Regions from separate parts of the Homo sapiens genome. Here regions 1 and 3 are each linked to region 2. Evidence: promoter capture Hi-C in 16 types of primary human blood cells and fetal thymus (Javierre and others, 2016). All regions are on one chromosome and are shown on one strand. The core of a region is centred on a gene start or on the middle of the fragment in contact, and the rest is flanking DNA. Distances in the headings are between cores, read along the strand shown. Region 1 overlaps VPS13C (vacuolar protein sorting 13 homolog C). Region 2 holds the start of C2CD4A (C2 calcium dependent domain containing 4A). Region 3 overlaps VPS13C (vacuolar protein sorting 13 homolog C).

Region 1 (3,901 bases), core at 133-2,632, 73 kb after region 2:
TCTTGTGCAGGTCACTCTCCAAATTGTGACCCCTTCTACTATTTGCCTGCTTTGCTTACTTTTCAAAGTCTCGGGTAGATCTTTTTTATATTTTGTTCAGAAGTTTTATTTGGGTTGAAGATGGCTTATGCCACCATGGAACTAAAACTTTCACTGAAATTAGTAATAAAGAAGTAACTTAAGAGCAATTTTTATAGAATAATGTGGGCAGAAGCTTGATAGGAATGAGAGAGCATGAACGACTGGGAATGGGAGACAGTGAGTAGGAACAGTATGATTCTTTGCTGTAAGCAGAGCAGATAAATGGAGCAGTAAGTGGTGGACAATGTGGAGTCAAGAGAAGGTTTTGTAACTTGCTTTTCTTTCTTTAAAAAAATTGTAGTATCCATTTTCAATGTCAGCAGAATCATTTATCTGACATCATTTAAGATAGCTGAATAGAGGCCGATGTGATGGCCCACTCCTGTAATCCCAGCCCTTTGGGAAGCTGAGATGGGCAGATCACGAGGTCAGGAGTTTGAGACCAGCCTGGCCAACATAGTGAAACCCTGTCTCTACTAAAAATACAAAAATTAGCCGGGTGTGGTGGCACACACATGTAATCTCAGCTACTTGGGAGACTGAGGCAGGAGAATCGCTTGAACCCGGGAGGTGGAGGTTGCAGTGAGCCGAGACCATGCCATTGCACTCCAGCCTGGGTGACAGAGTGAGAATCCATCTCAAAAAAAAAAAAAGATAGCTGAATAGTATTCCATTCTGTGCATATACCAGAATTTGCTTCACTGTTTCTCACTGGCTATATTTAATTGTAAGTGACTCTACAATGAATAGCCTTATCTCTGCATTTTCTCAAACATCCCTTATTTTCTCACAGGCAAATTCCCCAAGGTACAAGTTATTAGGTCAGAAAGTATGAATATTTTAAAAGGTATTTGCTACTGCTGGGGATTGTTCCTATGAAAGAGAGGAATGAATCACCGGAGGATAACAATTTCAATCCTCCATGACTTAAGTTGCTTTAGCTTAAATGTGTATTCTTAGTACCAGCTACAGTTGCTTAAAAAGTGAAGAAAGAGAACTAATATTGGGATGCAGTAGACAAAGAAGGATGGATGTAGAAGAGAAGGCAATTTGATCTATCTAACATTGATTTTTTTCATTGTAATGGAAAGTACATAGGGCCTGAGTTTAAAATGTAGGCGGAGGATTGGCTGAAGTTATTTACCATGGGCAACTTAGTTGGACAGAGAAGGAAGTGAAGGCACCAAGGGGGTAATTGAGGGAAAGGGAAAGCGCTCTGCATCCGTCTTCATCTTAGGTCTCATTTGTATATTTTTATTTATTTTTGGTCTCATATATATATATATATGCTTTGAAATAACTATAGGTTTACAATAAGTAGCAAAGATAGTTCACAGAGGTACTGTGTACCCTTCACCTGTTTCTCCCAGTGCTTACATCTACATAATATAGTACAATACCAAAACCAAGAATTTGACATTGGTATGATGTGTGTGTATAGTTCTGTGACAGCTCTCATATTTTTAAATATTAATTCTTATTTATTTTTAAATGGTAATTGACAAACGTAGGAAAACTTTTCTTCACTGTTCTTTGTTACTTCATTTTCTTCATAGCCTTTCTATGTTTGAAATTAGTATTTTTGATTGTGTGCTTTCCTAATTCATCTCTTTTTCTCTTTATTATGTGTAAAATTTTCAGTTTATTTTTAAATTCCTTGAAATTTGTAGCATGCTGATCACACCTTTAAGATTTCAACGCTAATGCTAATAATGGCTTTATCTTTCTTTTAAAGGTTTTCAGATATTTAGGTAGAGACTTGGGAGGAAGTTGAATGTTGGGGTTTGTCGCCATACTATCTTGATTTCTCTTAGGATATTTTAAAAAGGTTAATTTCAGTTAATTTTTTTTTCCAAAATAAAATGGCTTCTTTACCCCAAAGTGTAAAAAAATATATTATCTATTTTTATAAAGAATAATTTTTATGGTAGCTAAGAATATGGTAACAATGAAAAAATACAATTTAGTGCCTGCCCTTTTAAAACTTAAAGCTATCAGTTTGGTTAAAAGAGATGTTAATAAAATATCCAAATGCTTTTTAGCTTTTTCTGCTTTTAGATTTGTAAAAACTGTTCATGAATTCATCTGTTTATTAAGTCTCAGTATCTAAGAGAGGTTCAAACTTGAAGTTTCTGGTTGCATTTTCCCTAAAAGAATTCATAGAAGATTCTTAAAAGTGGAAAAACTCAGATGATATACATTTAATTGGGTGTCATTTCCAAAAAAGCTCGGTTTTATCTACTTGTGAAACTGTTGAAGCAGTTAATTCCCTTTATCATGATCTCTGCTGTTGAAGGAAACTAGTTTGTTGTCATCTCAGTGGTTCTGAACCTTGGCTGCATGTTAGAATCACCAGGGGAATTAAAAAAAAAATACCTCTTTCTTGAGAGAGAACCCACTCTCTCAAGATTTGATTTAATTGTTGTGTGGTGGGGCTTTGGCTTTGGCATTTTTTCTCATAAAGCTTCTAGATGATTCTTTTGTGCAGCAAGGATTGAATACCACTGAGCTGTGGTATCCACAGTAGCTGATTTGTCATTTACTTTCATCTTGCAGTTTCAAACAGGGCTTGAAAATGTATATACTCATCCCTAGCTTGTGACAAAAGTTTAACATTTTGCCCATCCTTAGTCTTTACATTCACCAATCAAACCTGTTCTCTTTACTATAGAATTCAACTCTTTACTTTTATCTTCTCTTTTGTATTATTCCACTTTTTATTACACACAGAGGCTTACAATATGTTACCGATTCACTACCAATTTCAAATACTTTAAGTGGAAAAATTATTGAAATTTACTTATTCAGGGAATGAGAACATATAATCTAAATTACTTATCCCCTTTATTTTGTTTATCCCTGTATTCTGCCTTTTGGTTATTCATCCATATTTCTCTGAAAAGTGGGCAAAGAGAAGGAGTGATAGAAAATCAAGTCAGGATTTGTTGAGAAAAGAGGGTGAAATTAGATTTAAGGACTATTTTAATTTATATCCCTCCTTCTGCCACTGTCCTAGTTAGCAAGCCAGCATTGTATATGAATTCTGAAATATAATTGTTTTAAATTAATACTTTTTTGGGTGTGTTTCCTTTCAAGGAACTTTTCATTTTATAAACATGCAGTTCTGGTGGCTTCTTAACTTAAAAATTTGGAAGAATTTGGAAGTCACATTGCTTAGAAGTATTTTACCTGAAACCTTAACTATATTGCTCATAACATGCAGCCTTATCAAAATGCTATCAGTTGGTGTGAGAAGTATTAATAAACTAATAGGGAGACTGCATTTAACTAAATTATGTTGTGAGCATCATTTAAGATCTTGACTGGTGCAATGTTACGTAGCGTTAAAAAAAAAAAAAGAACCATTGTTTTTTTTTCCCAGGCTACACCTGAAAATGAAGAGGGCAACATTCTTAAAGTAAATTTTTTAATTTTTATTTTTCAGGTGATTCGGTCTGGGCAAAAATTAAGGAAAAAGTCTGCTGACACAGGCGAGAAACGTGGAGGCTGGTTTAGTGGGTTGTGGGGTAAGAAAGAGTCTAAGAAAAAGGACGAAGAATCATTGATTCCTGAAAGTAAGTTCCAAGTCAAATAACTTATTGTACAGTGTTAAGTTAAAAAAAAACTGTGTAAATTATATCTTCCCTGTTGAATTTTATTTTGAAATACATTTGAAATAAATTACCTCAGTATAGTAAATATATAAGCAAATACATCAGGCTGGAATATTCCTGTTTATCTAAAATAAAACTTAGACTAAAATAAAACATTGATTTTTTTGTTTGTGAAATAATATTTATGTCAAATTTAAAATGTTTAA
Region 2 (4,020 bases), core at 456-2,955:
CAGCAGGCGGCCCCGCTCCCGGCCGCGGCCCTCGTCCCGGGCCTTGACTCGAACGGCCAGGCGGCGCACTTCGTCCTCCGAGAGGCCGTCGAAGCAGAAGTCCTGGTCAAAGGAGGCCTTGCGGCTGCGCCCCACCACAGTGCTGCATTGCCGAAGCGCGGTGCCCGGCGGCCGCAGGACGAGGCTGAGGCGACAGCTGACGGCTCGGGGCCCGGGGGCGCCTCCGGCCGGGCTCTCGGCGCGGAGCAGCCGGAGGCGGAGCCGCCCGGTTCCCGGACAGTACTCGGCGGCCAGGCGCAGGGCGTCGCCGGCGCGGCCCAGAGCCACGGTGCCCTCGGCCTCCAGGCGCTCGGGAAACGGGACCCGGGACGACGGCGGGCTCGTGGAGGGGGCCCGGGCCGGGGACTGGGAGCCCGCGCGGCGCTCCTTGTCCTCGTTCCCGCTGGAGACGGAGCGGACGCGGGTCAGGCGGCGACTCCTCCCAGCCCGCAGCGCGCGACTCAGCAGCCCGTCGGGGACGCGCAGGAGGCGGCAGCCGCGGGGCCGCCGGGCGAGCGCGTCCTGGGGCGGGCGGGGACAGCCGGGGGCCGCGGGGGTCGCCGGGCCCGGAGCTCGCGGGACGCGCAGGGTCCCCAGGAGGGCGTCCGGGCCGCCGCCGCCGCCGTAGGTGTGGGCCCGGGGCCGGGGCGCGGGCGGGCCCCCGAGCAGGAGCGACTCCTTGCGGCGCGTGTGCGGGCTCTCGAGCAGCGCGCAGAAGCCGTAGGCGGTGCGCACACGGGGCAGGTGCGGCAGTGACAGCGCGGCCTGCGAGCGCGGGTCCCAGTCTGTGCGGCCGGCGCCCTCGTCCATCCCTGCTTCTTCGACCCAAGAATTCCGGAGCGCAGCCAAGGCCAGGCGGGGCATGAGCCGTGGCGGGATGCAGAACTCAGGGATGCGGTCCGGAGTGAGCACATTTGCGCACGCGGCGGTGGTGCGAGACTTGGCTCCGCGGGCCCGACCCGGGAGAAGCCAGTCTCCGCTCCGCCGAAGGCACTCAGGACCCAAGCGGAGTCGCTCCAGGCACCACATCTGGCCACTCTCTGCTGGAGCTTGTCTACCTGCAGTGCACAAAGGCACAAGGATCGTCAGAGCGAGTCCCGCAAGGTGCAGTAAATCCTGTTCCTTTTCTCCTATTAATACTTTCGGGGTGTTTCTTCCTGCCTTTCCCGAAACAAGGCAAACTGCTCTTGCTTGCCGCTATTGCAAACTATTTTTTCAGTGAGCGAAAAACAACTGTTTTTCTTTTGTCCTATCTCAACTGTGTTGTAATACACACTTCGGAGCTTGTTTTAATCCCTCTCCGCCCTGGCTGGCCTAAGGCAGAGATTCACAAAATGCTGGATTGTAACTTCAGTCGCTCTGTTCTCTGTGCCAACGATTGCCTTGCAATCGTTTCCTGACTCTTTGGACCATAGCAGTCTAGTCCTCAGCTAGAATTAAAGTAATTGTTATTCCTTCCGGGAAACTGTGGCTGGTTCTCCCCTTGCAGAGGCAAAGAGCCTCAGACGAATCCCCCAGGGAATTAAGCAAGCCGATGGGTCCCTCCTAAAATACCTGGAGTCCTGCGTCAGATGGGTCTCTGCACCTTTCTGCCTGGGACACCGACCAGGAGAGGCGCTTAGCGGCTGGGAAATTCAAAGCGCGCGCGGCGGGGTTCAGCACCAGTGTTCAAGGACTGCCAGCCTGAGCTTTTATACCTGCCGCTGGGAGCGCTTGCCAGTGGGCCGAGCAGAGGGGCGCTGCCTGGTAACCTGACGCCAGGCTCTTCCCTGTCCCTCTGCCACGTGGCTGGATTTGCTGAGCAAGGTTTGGAGACCCAGTTCTTTCTCTCTCCGGCTTCAGGTGGAGGTGTTTTCCTCGGAAACCCCGAACAAGTTTCTGTTTCCTCACATGCAAAATGGTATTAAGTCTCTACTATACCGCAGAGTCATTGTGAGGATCGACGGGCGTAATGAATGTGAGCACGTAGAAGTACTCTACATTCACCATTAAAATGAAGACAAGTCCGGTTTGTCTTATTCTTGCCTAATACCCTTCCCCAAATCCAGCTTCCCAGTTGCCCAGCTTTCGAAGTTCTTTACTTGCTTTCCGGTTTTCAGTTCTGATTTTAGATGTTCTTTTCTGATTATAAACCCCTCTGGGTTAGGGGGAACATTTCATGTCTTGATCAGGGTGGAGTTACAGAGGTGTATCCATATGTAAAAACAATCAACTAGTGTACACTTAAGATTAGAGTACTTTATTGTATGTTATACATCAATTTAAAAAATCACAATCTACTTCTTAAGCCATGTGTGCTGATTTTTTATCGGGAAAATGTACACTTGCATGCATCTGGGCAGTTGGAATCATCCTTTGGAGGCGCCCTGACTACATCTGGCCTTTCTAGGCTGTGCCCACCAGAGAGACCCTTTTCCTTCCTTTTGAAAACTAACCTGTGTTCATTTTGTAAGAGAGTTGCTTCCAGTTAGCTCAGGCTGAAAGAGATCTGAGGCATTTTGTTCAGCGTTCAGGCAGATATTTCTGCCTAAGATACTGCCTTGCAAACTATTCACTTGTCTAAATAATATTTAATGAATTAAATTGAATTCATGCAAAAATGATTTCAGGATAGGGCATGTGCATTTTGTTTCCAGGACACACAGGCACTGTGCTAGATGATTTACATATAGTCTGTAGAACTGTCACAGAAACCCTGCATATTCGGATCATCCTTATTTTATAGATGAAAACTCAGTTTCAGAGGTCAAGTATCTTATCCAAGGTCACATAATGATGGGAAATGGAGGAAATCATACCTACTAATGGGTATAAATGAGCTGTTTGGGGAAATAATAATGTAAAATATTTTGCACCATGTAACATGGTAAGTGCTAAATACATAGAACTGATTATTATTAATAAAGATAGAAGGAAAGTTGTAAAGTATAGTGGTTAAGAAAATTGGGTCTGAAATTGGATCTACTGTTAATGCCAGAATGGTTGCTATGTGACCTTGAGCAAGTTAACTGTTCTAAGCCACAGTATCAAATTTAAAATTAATAATAGTGTCAACCTATACGGTTATCATGAGTATAAAGTAAGATGGTGAATATGAAGAGTTCAGCATAGGGCATGACATACACAATGTCGGATATAATATTATTATTACAGAAGAGAGCAAATGCTCATTAGTTCATTCATTCAAAGTAACATGTACTGAATGTTTTCTAGGTTCCAGCCATCATGTTAGGCAAGTGGATACAGGTTGGCTGTACAAGATCATATCAGCTATGTAAATCCATAAATGATGGAGTAAAATGATGAGGATAAACTATTTGAATTCCATCTGGGTGAGGCAGGCGTGAGAAGAGACTACCGAACATTATTTATTTAGTTATTTATTTTTAAGACAGGGTCTTACTCTCTTGCCCAGGCTGGAGTGCAGTGGTACAATCTTGGCTCACTGCAACCTCTGCTTTCTAGGCTCAAGCAATCCTCCAACCTCAGCCTCCCAAGTAGCTGAGACTACAGGCATGAGCCACCAGGCCCGACTAACTTTTTTTTTTTTTTGGAGAGATGGAGTTTCAACATGTTGACCAGGCTGGTCTTGAACTCCTGGGCTCAAAGTGATCCGCCCACCTCAGCCTCCCAAAGTGCTAGGACTATAGGTGTGAGCCACTGTACCTGGCCTGAACATTACTTATATGTTTCTAGTAGGGGGCAGGATTGGTGGGTCTCTGGATTTACTGTGTCCTTGAATAGCTATTTTTTTTTTTTTTTTTTGAGACAGGGGCTCACTCTGATGCCCAGGCTGGAGTGCAGTGGTGCAATCAAGGGCACTTCAACCTCAACTTCTCAGGCTCAGGTGATTTTCCCATGTCCCCCTCCTGAGTAGCTGGGACTACAGGCATGCACCACTACCTGGCTAATTTTTATATTTTTTATAGACATGGGATTTTGCCATGTTGCCCAGGCTGGTCTCAAACTCCTGGGCTCAAG
Region 3 (3,930 bases), core at 112-2,611, 97 kb after region 2:
TATGTTCTTTACTGTTAGCCTTCTTCAACTTCTCTCTTTCTCCATACTACATCCAAAATATCATTAAATCCCATGACCCTAAATTCAAAATGCATTCAGATGATTGCTCTTCCTTTCTGCTGCTACTGTACTGTCTAAGTCACTGTAATCTTCTTCCCTGGATTATTTTGCAATAGCCTCTTAACTGTCTTTGCTTCCATCAGGTACTCTGTTCTGTCATTTGCCAGATTGATCCTTTAAGAGTGAATGTCAGGCCGGGCATGGTGGCTCACGCCTGTAATCCCAGCACTTTGGGAGCCCGAGGTGGGTGGATCATCTGAGGTCAGGAGTTCAAGACCAGCCTGGGCAACACGGTGAAACCCCATCTCTACTAAAAATACAAAATTAGCTAGGCGTGGTGGTGGGCACCTGTAATCCCAGCTGCTCGGGAGGCTGAGGCAGGAGAATTGCTTGAACCTGGGAGGTAAAGGTTGCAGTGAGCTGAGAGTGCACCACTGCACTCCAGCCTAGGTGACAGAGCAAGACTTTGTCTCTAAAATAAAATAAAGTAAAATAAAAATAAAAGGGAATGTCAGATCATGTTACTACTCTGCTCAGTATCCTCCACTGACTTCAAATGTCACTAAAAGTAAAGGACTAAGTCCTTTCCATGGCCTACAAGGCCTTACATTTGTAACACCTCATATGACTGGCCAGTTCTTTCCTGCCTTGCTCACTCTGCTTCAGCCATATTCCATCTATCCCTTCAATAGGTATTGATCATGTGCCATTATTACCAGACATTATTTTAGGTACTGGAAAATAGCAGTGAGTTAAGTTCTTGCCGCATGGAGCTTACACTTGTCTTATGTTTTTCCTTCTGTATACCAAAGCACATTCTTTGTGCTTGCTATTTCCTTTGCCTGGAACACTCTTTTCCTGCATGGCTTGATTTTTTTTTTTTTTTTTTTTTTAAACTAACTTCAGGTATTTGTTCAATTGTCATCTTATTGGAAAGATCTGACCACCCAAGACAAGACAGCAACCTTCATTTTCTCCAACTTTCCCTAGAATGTAAACTTCATGGTGATAAAGAATGTCTTAATTTGTTTTCTGTTACTATAACAGAATACCCCAGCCTCCCAAGAGGCTGAGATTACAGGCACATACCACCACACCCAGCTAATGTTTTACATTTTTTGTGGAGATTCGGTTTTACTATGTTGCCCAGGCTGGTCTTGAACTCTCGGGCTCAAGTGATCCGCCTGCCTTGGCCTCCCAAAGTGCTGGGATTACAGGCATGAGCCACCGCACTTGGCCTCTTCTTTAAGTATTTTTAAAGTGTTACCTAAGTATGTAATTATAACATCTGCTAATAATAATATTTTTTGCCTTTTTTCAGTATTTATATTATTCTGGTTATTATTGCTGCCTATCAAGTTAAATAGCTTAAAACAACTATTTTATTTTGCTTACAGGTTTGTGGGTTAGGAAGTTTGGAAGGGCTCACCTGGGTAATTTTGTGCATAGTCTTTCATTCGGTTGCATTCTGATGTTGACTGGGGTTGCAGTCATCTGAAGCCTCAAGCTGGATGTCCATGTGGCTCACTTATGAGGCTTGCAATTGATACTGGCTATTGGCTGGGAGCTAGCTGGGACTATTGACTGAAACACCTACTTATGGCCTCTCAGCATGGTAAAAGCCGTGGTAGTCTGAGTAGTTGAACTTTTTACATGGTGGCTGGCTTCCCCCAGTATGAGTGTTCCCAGGTAGGAGTTTCGTGGTCTTTTATGACACCGGAAGTCCTTATAGTATCAGTTCCTTTCTACTATATTGATTTAAGCATTCACAAGCCTGCCCATATTCAAAGGGTGGAGACAAAGATCTACACCTTTTGATTAGAATATCAAAAGCACTTACATCTTTTAAAAATTACCACGTTTTATTTTTTATTGGCTAAATATACAGGCTATAATTTCCAGAGTTAACTTAAATAGTAGTATGATAGAGAACATCTTGTCTTACTTTCTACTTTAATGGGGATACTTTAAAAAAAATTACTAAACATGATTTTTGCTTTGAAATACAGGTTTAAGAAAATCATATTTAGGAAGAATCTATACATTCCTATTTTACTAAATTAGAAAAAGTAAACAATGAAGTTAAATTCTGTCATGATTTTTTTATAAATGTATTTATATTCTCAACAATAGAATTTAAGTTTTGTAATTTCCAATTATATTAAATTGCTATGGTGGCAGAAGGATATGAGCAAAGTTACTATTCTCATGGTGATGTGTATGGAGAAAGATTTTGTTTTCATTATTTTAAGTATGATTCAGACTTCTTATCAACTTTTCATTGACTCTAATTCTTTTAGGTGATTTTGGAATTTACTAAACAGCAGAAAGAAGAAGATACAATTCTAGTATTTAATGTTACTCAGTTAGGAACAGAGGCCACAATGAGAACATTTGACTTAACTGTGGTATCTTATTTAAAGAAAATCAGCTTGGATTATCATGAAATTGAAGGTAATACCCATAAAAATAGAAATAATAGCCTATAATAAAGATAGGACTTTTGAGTATCTGAAACACTTTCATTTATATTGTATTTATAATAAATAATAGCTACACTGTTGTAAGCACTTTACAAGTAATAACTCATTTAATCCTTATAGCAGTGCTATGGGGTAGGCAGTGTTATAATCTATGGTTTAAATGTAAGTAAACTAAGTCACAGACTGATTGTATTAATATAATTTACTAATTGTCACAGGGCTAGTAATTGACTGAACCATGATTAAAACCCTGGAAATGTGGCCCTAGGGTCTGTGCTCTTAATTAATATTACCTTTTGCCTCAGAGAGTCTCTAAAAATCCCCTTGATATGGGGAATATTATTCCTGTTTTATAAACAAAGGCTAAATAAAGATTAAGTGGCTTACTGAATATCCTGTATTTAATGAATGACAAAACTTAAGAGTTTATCTCTGATCATATGTTATTGAAGGCCTTGTTCTTTCTATTAAATAGTATTCATATACCACAAGAAACACCAGATTATAAAAATAAAAATGATAGGATGTAAAGTTAGTTCTTTCAGAAACTCTGATTGTCATATACCACAAGAAACACCAGGTTATAAAAATAAAAATGATAGGATGTAAAGTTAGTTCTTTCAGAAACTCTGATTGTTTATTCATTTCAGTGTATATATTGTTTGCTCAGGTATTTGAGGCATGTAGGAATGGACAAATCTACAGTAATTAAAATTCCCTAATATTTCCCTAATGCTTTAGTCAAATGCAGTCGTCCCTTGGTACCTGTGGGGCATTGATTCTGGGACTTCTGTGGGTACCAAAATCCATGGTGCTCAAGTTCCTTATATAAAATGGCATTGTATTTTCATATAACCTATGCATAGCCTTCCATATACTTTAAATCTCTAGATTACTTCTAATACCTAATACATTGTAAATGTAAAAGAGTTGTTACACCATGTTGATTTTAAAAATTTTTGTATTTTTAATTTTTTATTGTTTTTAATTTTTTTTAATATTTCAATCTGAAGTTGGTTTATACTATGGGTTGGAATCCTTGGTTACAGAACACTGACTGTATAAAGACCTATGTTTTATAACTTTTTAATAGTTGAAACTAAAACAAATCTCAATTTAGAAGAAAAATATTTTATGTGTTAGTAATTTCTATAGGACCTGTGTTAAGATAAGGTTTACATTATTGTCTTGAGGGAAAAATATAAATAATAATTTTTCTAGGCTATTTTTTCCTTTAGTGAAGGTTATGCCCTTGGAAGTCAAGGGAAAATTTTAAGCTCTCTCAGAAGCAAGAGTTAAAAGAATTGCAAATAACAAAAGATGGATAAAATGGTGGACAAATTACTTCTCCTTCCACAGCTTTTGGAGGCAGTTCCTTGGTACATCT

The links. The method cuts DNA at HindIII sites, captures the fragments that hold promoters and counts their contacts. A CHiCAGO score of 5 or more calls a contact.
Region 1: a fragment that was not itself captured here is called in contact with the fragment with the promoter of C2CD4A in region 2 in 2 of 17 cell types (total B cells and naive B cells); the score reaches 6.1 in total B cells.
Region 3: a fragment that was not itself captured here is called in contact with the fragment with the promoter of C2CD4A in region 2 in 6 of 17 cell types (total B cells, naive B cells, activated CD4 T cells and 3 more); the score reaches 7.0 in total B cells.

The regions. Positions count from the first base shown.
Region 1 is chr15:61,991,428-61,995,328 of GRCh38, reverse strand. It overlaps VPS13C (vacuolar protein sorting 13 homolog C), which reads left to right. Exons shown (of 85, transcript NM_020821.3): 17 at 3,527-3,656. Among named protein-coding and RNA genes, the nearest start is that of VPS13C, 67 kb to the left of the region's middle. The HindIII fragment of the contact is 2,331 bases long and covers 217-2,547 here.
Region 2 is chr15:62,064,662-62,068,681 of GRCh38, reverse strand. It overlaps C2CD4A (C2 calcium dependent domain containing 4A), which reads right to left and starts at 1,705. Exons shown (of 2, transcript NM_207322.3): 1 at 1,594-1,705; 2 at 1-1,097. The coding sequence starts at 1,068. RefSeq lists silencers at 1-365, 416-555, 686-735, 1,598-1,892 and enhancers at 966-1,481, 1,882-2,051. The HindIII fragment of the contact is 6,406 bases long and covers 1-4,020 here.
Region 3 is chr15:61,967,883-61,971,812 of GRCh38, reverse strand. VPS13C (vacuolar protein sorting 13 homolog C) reads left to right here. Exons shown (of 85, transcript NM_020821.3): 28 at 2,361-2,514. Among named protein-coding and RNA genes, the nearest start is that of VPS13C, 91 kb to the left of the region's middle. The HindIII fragment of the contact is 5,335 bases long and covers 1-3,930 here.